Regions from separate parts of the Homo sapiens genome. Here all the other regions are linked to region 2. Evidence: promoter capture Hi-C in human tissues and cell types (Jung and others, 2019). All regions are on one chromosome and are shown on one strand. The core of a region is centred on a gene start or on the middle of the fragment in contact, and the rest is flanking DNA. Distances in the headings are between cores, read along the strand shown.

Region 1 (2,700 bases), core at 134-2,633, 190 kb after region 2:
CCCGTGGCTGCTGTTAGTGTTCGGGTACCACGGTCTGTCCATTCACCTGTGGATGGGCTCACGCGGGCTGCTTCCCAGTTTTGGCAACTGCAAACAAAACTCTGGTAAACCTGCACACTGAAGTCTTTTCTTTTTTCTTTTTTTTTTTTTTTGAGATGGGGTCTCCCTATGTTGCCTAGGCTGGTCTCAAACTCCTGGGCTTAAGCGATCCCCCAGCCTTGGCCCCTAAAGTTCTGGGATTACAGGCGTGAGCCACTGAGCCTGGCCACATATGAATCTTTGAACACGTCTTCCCTTCTCCCGGCTCGGCTGTTTGCCACACGTTTGTGGAGTGGCTACACAACTTCACAGCGATGGATGAGATCCAGCTGTTCCACATCCTCATGCCACACTCAGGGCTTCTGAATTTCAGCCATGCCAGTGGGACCACAGTGTCGGCTCCCCGTGGCTTTAATCTGCCTTCTCCTATGACTGGAGATGCTGGGCGACTTTCCATGTGCTCAACTGGTCATTCCATCCACCTTGGTGAAACGTCTGTCCGGATGCTCTCCCAGTGGTTAACTGGCCATTCCACCCATCTTGGCGAAACGTCTGTCCGGATGCTCTCCCAGTGGTTAACTGGCCATTCCACCCATCTTGGCGAAACGTCTGTCCGGATGCTCTCCCAGTGGTTAACTGGCCATTCCACCCATCTTGGCGAAACGTCTGTCCGGATGCTCTCCCAGTGGTTAACTGGCCATTCCACCCATCTTGGCGAAACGTCTGTCCGGATGCTCTCCCAGTGGTTAACTGGCCATTCCACCCATCTTGGCGAAACGTCTGTCCGGATGCTCTCCCAGTGGTTAACTGGCCATTCCACCCATCTTGGCGAAACGTCTGTCCGGATGCTCTCCCAGTGGTTAACTGGCCATTCCACCCATCTTGGCGAAACGTCTGTCCGGATGCTCTCCCAGTGGTTAACTGGCCATTCCACCCATCTTGGCGAAACGTCTGTCCGGATGCTCTCCCAGTGGTTAACTGGCCATTCCACCCATCTTGGCGAAACGTCTGTCCGGATGCTCTCCCAGTGGTTAACTGGCCATTCCACCCATCTTGGCGAAACGTCTGTCCGGATGCTCTCCCAGTGGTTAACTGGCCATTCCACCCATCTTGGCGAAACGTCTGTCCGGATGCTCTCCCAGTGGTTAACTGGCCATTCCACCCATCTTGGCGAAACGTCTGTCCGGATGCTCTCCCAGTGGTTAACTGGCCATTCCACCCATCTTGGCGAAACGTCTGTCCGGATGCTCTCCCAGTGGTTAACTGGCCATTCCACCCATCTTGGTGAAACGTCTGTCCAGATCCCTTCCCAGTGGTTAAGTGGGTTGTTTGCTTAGTTATGGGAGAATTTTACATACTCTGGTCAAAGGTCCTTTCAAATCAGAGGAGGGCTGAAAAAATTTTTTAAGTCCTTTGAAAGAAGTATTTTCTCCCTTTCTTTAACTGCTTTTTCATTTTCTCAACTCTTCCACAGAGTTGAAGCTTTAAATTTTGGTGAAGTCTAAATTTTAATGTTTTTCTTCATGGCTAGTGCCTTGTGTATCCATACTAAGAAATCTCTGCCTACCCCAAAGTTGCAAAGACCTCCCCCATGTTCCTTTCTATAACTTTTAGTTTAGCTTTTACATTTAGGTTTATACAGGGTAAAACAAGAGTTAAGATTCACTGTTTTCCGAACAGATATCCAGCTGTTCTTAGCACCATTTTTTCAGAAAACCAGAAATCAACCTTCATTTCCTCTCTCAATTAAATTGGCATGTTTGTCAAAAAACAATCACCAAGGGCCAGGCATGGTGGCGCACGCCTGTAATCCCAGCTACTCGGGAGGCTGATGTGGGAGAATCGCTAGAACCTAGGGGCGGGGGCTGCAGTGAGCCGAGATGGTGCCACTGCACTCCAACCTGGGTGACAGAGTGAGATTCCAACTGAAAAAAAAAACAATGACCACATGCGTGTGGGTCAGCTTGAGCTTGCTGCCTTCTCCATGGCCTGCAGGCCTGTGCCTGAGCTGGGCCATCTCCACCTCCACTCCTGCAGCTTTAGAGGAGTCTTGAAACCAGCGAGGTGAGTCCTCCAGCTCTGTTCTTCTTCACGGTCATCTTGCTGTTTTAGATCTTCTGCGTTTCCGTGAAAGTGTTAGACTCGGCTTACCAGCTGTGATATAACTGTCCCAGGGAGGGGCCTGGTTGGGTTAGAAGCTCTCCAGATGGTTCCCAGGGGCAGCCAGGGCTCAAAGCACCGAGTCACCCACAACCACGGCAAACCTCACCAGCTCTCTGTGGGGTTCTGCTACAGCTTCCCAGGAGTCGGCCCCCCAGCCGCCCCCACTCACCTCTTCCCTTGCTCTGCTGCACCTGCTGAGGCTCCCCTCAGACCCACCAGCATTCCCCACCTCCCGCCGACATCGCACTTGGGCCCGCTTGGCTCGGTCTCCGCCTCCTCCCTCTGCTCTATTTCCCTTCAGTATCATCAGCTCACGTGCTTACTCTTTTGCTGTCCACCTGTCCCCACCACTAGAATCAAAGCTCCATGTGAGTGAAGCCAGTCTTGCTATGCCTGGAATAGCACCCAGCATGATGAGCTCTCAATAAATATACACCCCGAGAATGAGCGAACCAACGACGGGATCTGGAAACGTCACCACGCCATCGTCACGTGAAC
Region 2 (2,700 bases), core at 149-2,648:
GCCTCCACGTTCTTGAGGTGCTTCCGAGCCAGGAACAGTGCGAGGCGCCGGCGCCGCCGCGAGCTCAGGCCCTGGCCCACCAGCCATGGGAAGGCGGGTCCGTGTGGCCCCAGGGCCTCCTCGCCCTCCAGCTCCTCTTCGCAGCGTGCACGGTAGGAGCGCAGCAGCGCCAGGCACCAGTCCTCGTCCACGCGGTAGCGTGCATAGAAGGCGGCCTCCTGCGCCAAGCTGCCAGCGCGCAGCCAGCGGGTGACGACGGCGCGGCCCTCTCGCGCCATCACGACGGGGTAGCGGTGCTCCAGCAGGCGCAGCAGCAGCTCATTGCCCCGGTTGCCCTCCACGTCACCAGGTGACAGGGGGCGCAGGCGGCCCGAAGTGCTGACCACGTCATCCTGCGTGCGTCGGAGCAGCAGCACCGGCCCCGGGTAGCAGCACAGCTGCTCGGCCACGTTGAGGTTGAAGTGCTCGCGCACGGTGCGCACCACCAGCCCCTTCCAACTGTGGGGCATGACCTTCAGCGCCAGCGGCACAAGGTCGTCGAAGGTGGCGTCCAGCACCAGTGCACCCAGCTCCGGGTAGGTCATGGTGGCCCAGGTGGCCGTGAAGCCGCCAACAGACCAGCCGTAGACCACCAGGTGCGCGGGCGGGAAGTGCAGGCGGTGCAGTGCGTACTCGACCACCACGTCCATGGCGTTGGCGTCGTGCTGAGGGAAGGGCACGCCAGTGCTGCTGCCGAAGCCGGGGTGGTTCCAGCCCAGCACGGAGTAGCCGGCCTCGAGCGGTGCAGACAGACAGCCCATCTCGTAGAAGCCCGCGTTGCCTTCGCAGCAGATGACGAGGCGCGGCCCGTGCACGTGGCTGCCCGGGTGCTGGCGGCGGTCCATGAACATAGTGTCGATCTCGTTGCCGTCACAGGCCACCAGCTTGGCGCGCCGGCCGTGGTAGCGCTCCACGAGGCGCTCTTGGCCCTGCTGCAGCAGCGGCAGCAGCGCGCGCGTCATCAGGGACACGGAGCCGGGGTACACGAGCCAGCGGCCCAGCGAGTGGGCCAGCGCGTAGCTAGCGAGCTGGCCGGGCAGCTCGCGGAGCTGCTGCAAGAGGCACTGCGCCTGGCTGCGCGCCCCACGTGGAGGCCGCCCCAGCGCATCCCCGCCCAGCGTCTCGTCCCGCAGCAACCACACGCCCGCCGCGGCTGCCGCGCAGGTCAGCGCCCGGTGGCTGCTGCTCCGGCCCACGGCGCGCACGTCATCCCAGCGGAAGGCCACGGGCCAGCCGCGGAATGGGTAGGTGTAGCTGGCGGTCAGGTAGATCTTGAACACGCGCACCAGCGCCTTCACGAAGCAGATGACGCACATGAGCGGTGGCCCTAACGCCCAGCCGCTGGGCCGGGATCGCCGCGAGAGGCACAGGGCAGTCTTAGGGGATACCGGCTCCCGGACAAGCCCTGATGGCCTTTGTGACCTGGCCTTCCAGGGCGGAGGGAAGGCTGCATCCTGTTGCTAGGTGATGGGTGCACAAAGGGTTCCCAGAGATGATGAACCCAAGGTTCTGCCCGTCCCCCGCCTTCGCCAAGACCCCACCAGCTAAACGCTCCCAGGCCCAGCTTTCCCACCCATGATTTGAGCAGCTACTGTCTCCCTCTTTCTTCCTTATTTATTTATTAAATTGAGATGGGGTCTCACTATGCTGCCTAGGCTGGTCTTGAACCCCTGGGCTCAAGCGATCCTCCCGCCTCCACCTCCCACAGTGTTGGGATTACAGGTGTGAGTCCCTGCACCCCGCCTCCACCTCCCACAGTGTTGGGATTACAGGTGTGAGTCCCTGCACCCCGCCTCCCTCTTCCTTAAATTTAAGATGGACAGCCCCACGGGCCAAAAAGGGACAGCAAGGCCTCCTCCGCCTGTACCAGGCTTGCTGTGGGTCCTGCAAGTTTCCCTTCAGGGTCTGCTGGTTTAAACCTCATCTCCCCAGGACGGCCGGGGTCAGAGACAGGGCTGCTGCTGCACCAAAAAGGCGGTATTTGCTCTCGGCCCGGCCCCTCCTCTCCACACCTTCCTTCTTCGGTGCTGACCAGAAACAAGCCCTCTCCTTTTCTGGATCCTCTTTTCACTGGCTGCCAGCAACAGCAGTGACCTTCTGGGGCGGGTCCTGCCTGGCTGGGGTTCCTCTTTCTCGCTCCTGGGTCGAGCCCCCACTCCCAGGCTGCGCCTCCCTCTTTTCTGGAGAGGTATCTTTTCTCCTGCCCTGGAAAGGGCCAGCCCACCTGAGGGCAGGGTCGGAAGCCGCCTGCCAGGAGGAGCCCCAGGGAAGAGGGCAGCTCCAGGTACTCAACAGCTCCCCAGACCAGAAACAAACATGCTACAATCAGGGAGTTTGGCAAATCCAGCCAGAGCCTCTGAGCCCAGGTGCCAGGCCCGCCTGGGACCCCAGCCTTCTGGGGAAGGGGTAGTTTCAGGCTGAAGCACCCCCTCTCTGCTCTCCTGCTCAGCGTCTGGGTTAGAGGCACTGCCTGACCCTAACAGGCCCCGCCCCTAGTTGGGGGAGTCAGCTGCTGCCTTTAGGGGTTGGGGGACAGAAGACAGGGACCAATTAACAAAGGGAGCGATTTGGGGGGCTATTACCCCCATTCTAGGTTGCCAGATAAAATACAGAATAATATGCCAGTTAAATTGGAATTACAAATAAACAAATACTTTTTGG
Region 3 (2,700 bases), core at 61-2,560, 250 kb after region 2:
AGTCTCTTTTTCGTGAACTGGCTCAACGAGGAGACTGGGCCAGATGTCCTGCAGGTGCCTTGCTGGGTTTGGAGGATCGCAATTCACTACAGCAGCTGAGTCGTGCCTAGGCTCCAGTCTACAAAGCCAGGGTGTAGGGACCAGCCCCACAGGGTTGGTGGGTTTTCTCCTCGTATGCGGAGATGAGAGAGTGTAGAAATAAAGACACAAGACAAAGATAAAAGAAAAAGACAGCTGGGCCTGGGGGACCACTACCACCAAGACGCGGAGACTGGTAGCGGCCCCGAATGCCAGGTTGCGCTATTTATTGGATACAAGACAAAGCGGCAGGGTAAGGAGTGTGAACCATGTCCAGTGATAGGTAAGGTCATGTGGGTCACGTGCCCACTGGCCAGGGGGCCCTTCCCTTCCTGGCAGCTGAGGCAGAGAGAGAGGAGAGAGAGAGAGAGACCGCTTACGCCATTATTTCTGCTTATCAGAGACTTTCAGTACTTTCACTAATTTGCTGCTGCTATCTAGAAGGCAGAGCCAGGTGCACAGGATGGAACATGAAGGCGGACTAGGAGCGTGACCACTGAAGCACAGCATCACAGGGAGACGGTTAGGCCTCCGGATAACTGCGGGCGGGCCTGACTGATGTCAGGCCCTCCGCAAGAGGTGGAGGAGTAGAGTCTTCTCTAAACTCCCCCGGGGAAAGGGAGACTCTCTTTCCTGGTTTGCTAAGTAGCGGGTGTTTTTCCTTGACACTGAGGCTACCGCTAGACCACGGTCCACTTGGCAACGGGCGTCTTCCCAGATGCTGGCGTTACCGCTAGACCAAGGAGCCCTCTGGTGGCCCTGTCCAGGCATAACAGAAGGCTCGCACTCTTGTCTTCTGGTCAGTTCTCACTATGTCCCCTCAGCTCCTATCTCTGTATGGCCTAGTTTTTCCTAGGTTATGATTTCCTAGTTTTTCCTAGGTTATGCTTAGGCAAGGATTATTATAATATTGGAATAAAGAGTAATTGCTACAAACTAATGATGAATGATATTCATATATAATCATATTTATGATCTATATCTAGTATAACTATTCTTATTTTATGCATTTTATTACACCGGAACAGCTCGTGCCCTCGGTCTCTTGCCTCGGCACCTAGGTGGCTTGCCGCCCATACCAGGGTCCATCTGATGGAGTGGGTGTTGCCCAGTCTGACAAATGCAGGGCGGCCTTCACATCCTAGGGGGTCTCTTTACCCTGCCCTGCTCTGCACTCTTCCCTCCCCCTCCTGTCCAGACCACCCACATGCTAGACTCTCACACCCAAGAGAAGTCTCACGAACATGTCGCAGGAGCATCAAGGACACTGGAGTTACCCATTTGAAATGTGGAGAGTTCAACATTAAGTACATTTTTATTGATAAACAAAAATGGGCCAGGCGCAGTGGCTCACACCTGTAATCCCAGCACTTTGGGAGGCCAGGGTGGGTGGATCACTTGTCAGGAATTTGAGACCAGTCTGGCCAACATGGTGAAACCCCGTCTCTACTAAAAGTACAAAAATTAGCCAGGCGTGGTGGCGGGCGCCTGTAATCCAGTTGGGAGGCTGCAGCAGGAGAATTGCTTGAACCAGGGAGATGGAGGTTACAGTGAGCCGAGATTGTGCCACTGCACTCCAGCCTGGGTGACAGAGCGAGACTCAGTCTCAAAAAAAAAAAAAAAAGAAAACAAAAATGTTGTAGTAATAAAATCCTGCACAGTTGTCTTCGTACACAGTTGTGGCTTAGAGCTCTCCTCTGTGGGTGTCTTGCCGGCTGGTGGCAGTGACGGACCAGGGCAGTGGCAGACACAGGCGCACGGCTGGCGCAGTGCCCTGGAGGCTGGTGTCCCACTTGCTGTCTTGGTTTCCTGTGGTCACTGTGGAAGGTGGCTCCTGTAGGTTAGCTTTGCTTTATGAACACTGAGTAGGAGCTTTTTTTCTAGGATGTTAAAAGAATTTGCTCACATCTTATGCTTGAGTTAACTCTTTGAAGAACAGTGAGAAGTAGAGAGGAAATAATTGCCAAGTTCTCTTGCTTGCTCTGTTTATGATTGTGTCAGTTTTCTTTTGCTGTTTAAGAAAACACCCAATGGCAGGCACCTGTAGTCCCAGTTACTCAGGAGGCTGAGGCAGGGGAATGGCGTGAATCCGGGGGGCAGAGCTTGCAGTGAGCCAAGATTGCGCCACTGCACTCCAGCCTGGGCAACAGAGTGAGACTGCGTCTCCGAAAAAAAAAAAGAAAAAGAAAGAAAGAAACCATCCAAAACTTAGTGGCTTAAGACAAGACATAGTTGTTATTATTTTTAATTCTGTTGGTTGGTTCGTGGTTCTGCTGGTCTGGGCCGGCCTCACCAACCCCTGTCGTCAGCTGACAGCTTGGCAAGGACCTGCTGGTCTGGGTGGCCTTGGCCACAGGGGTCTCTGGAGGGAGGCAGTCTGAGGCACAGGTAGGCTCGGCTGGGTGGCTCTCCTCTGCTTTGCCCGGTCTGTGATCCTCCACCTGGAGGCCTGGACTTCTTTGCCCCGTAAGCCCACAGTTGCAGAGGAAAGTGGGCCTCCTGCTCACTTCTGTTGCCTTGATTGACGCAAGCGACATCACCAAGTGCTGGTTCAAGGGCAGAGCTAAGACTGCCTCTTGGTAGGAAGTTACAAAACGTTGAGATCATTTCTGTGGCCACAGA

The links. The method cuts DNA at HindIII sites, captures the fragments that hold promoters and counts their contacts. A contact is called where the count stands out against the background at its distance.
Region 1: a contact is called between a fragment that was not itself captured here and the fragment with the promoter of ABHD16B in region 2, in 4 of the 25 tissues and cell types used here (H1 embryonic stem cells, dorsolateral prefrontal cortex, lymphoblastoid cells and 1 more).
Region 3: a fragment that was not itself captured here is called in contact with the fragment with the promoter of ABHD16B in region 2 in 1 of the 25 tissues and cell types used here (dorsolateral prefrontal cortex).

The regions. Positions count from the first base shown.
Region 1 is chr20:63,668,269-63,670,968 of GRCh38, reverse strand. All of the region lies in intron 8 of RTEL1 (regulator of telomere elongation helicase 1), which reads right to left. The region is part of intron 8 of RTEL1-TNFRSF6B (RTEL1-TNFRSF6B readthrough (NMD candidate)); the gene reads right to left. Among named protein-coding and RNA genes, the nearest start is that of RTEL1, 11 kb to the right of the region's middle. The HindIII fragment of the contact is 4,863 bases long and covers 1-2,700 here.
Region 2 is chr20:63,860,196-63,862,895 of GRCh38, reverse strand. ABHD16B (abhydrolase domain containing 16B) reads right to left here and starts at 1,398. Exons shown (of 1, transcript NM_080622.4): 1 at 1-1,398. The coding sequence starts at 1,355. ABHD16B-AS1 (ABHD16B antisense RNA 1) reads left to right here. Exons shown (of 2, transcript NR_165314.1): 2 at 1-1,681. The HindIII fragment of the contact is 14,540 bases long and covers 1-2,700 here.
Region 3 is chr20:63,612,524-63,615,223 of GRCh38, reverse strand. The region is part of intron 2 of GMEB2 (glucocorticoid modulatory element binding protein 2); the gene reads left to right. Among named protein-coding and RNA genes, the nearest start is that of GMEB2, 13 kb to the left of the region's middle. RefSeq lists an enhancer at 1,096-1,265. The HindIII fragment of the contact is 4,726 bases long and covers 1-2,700 here.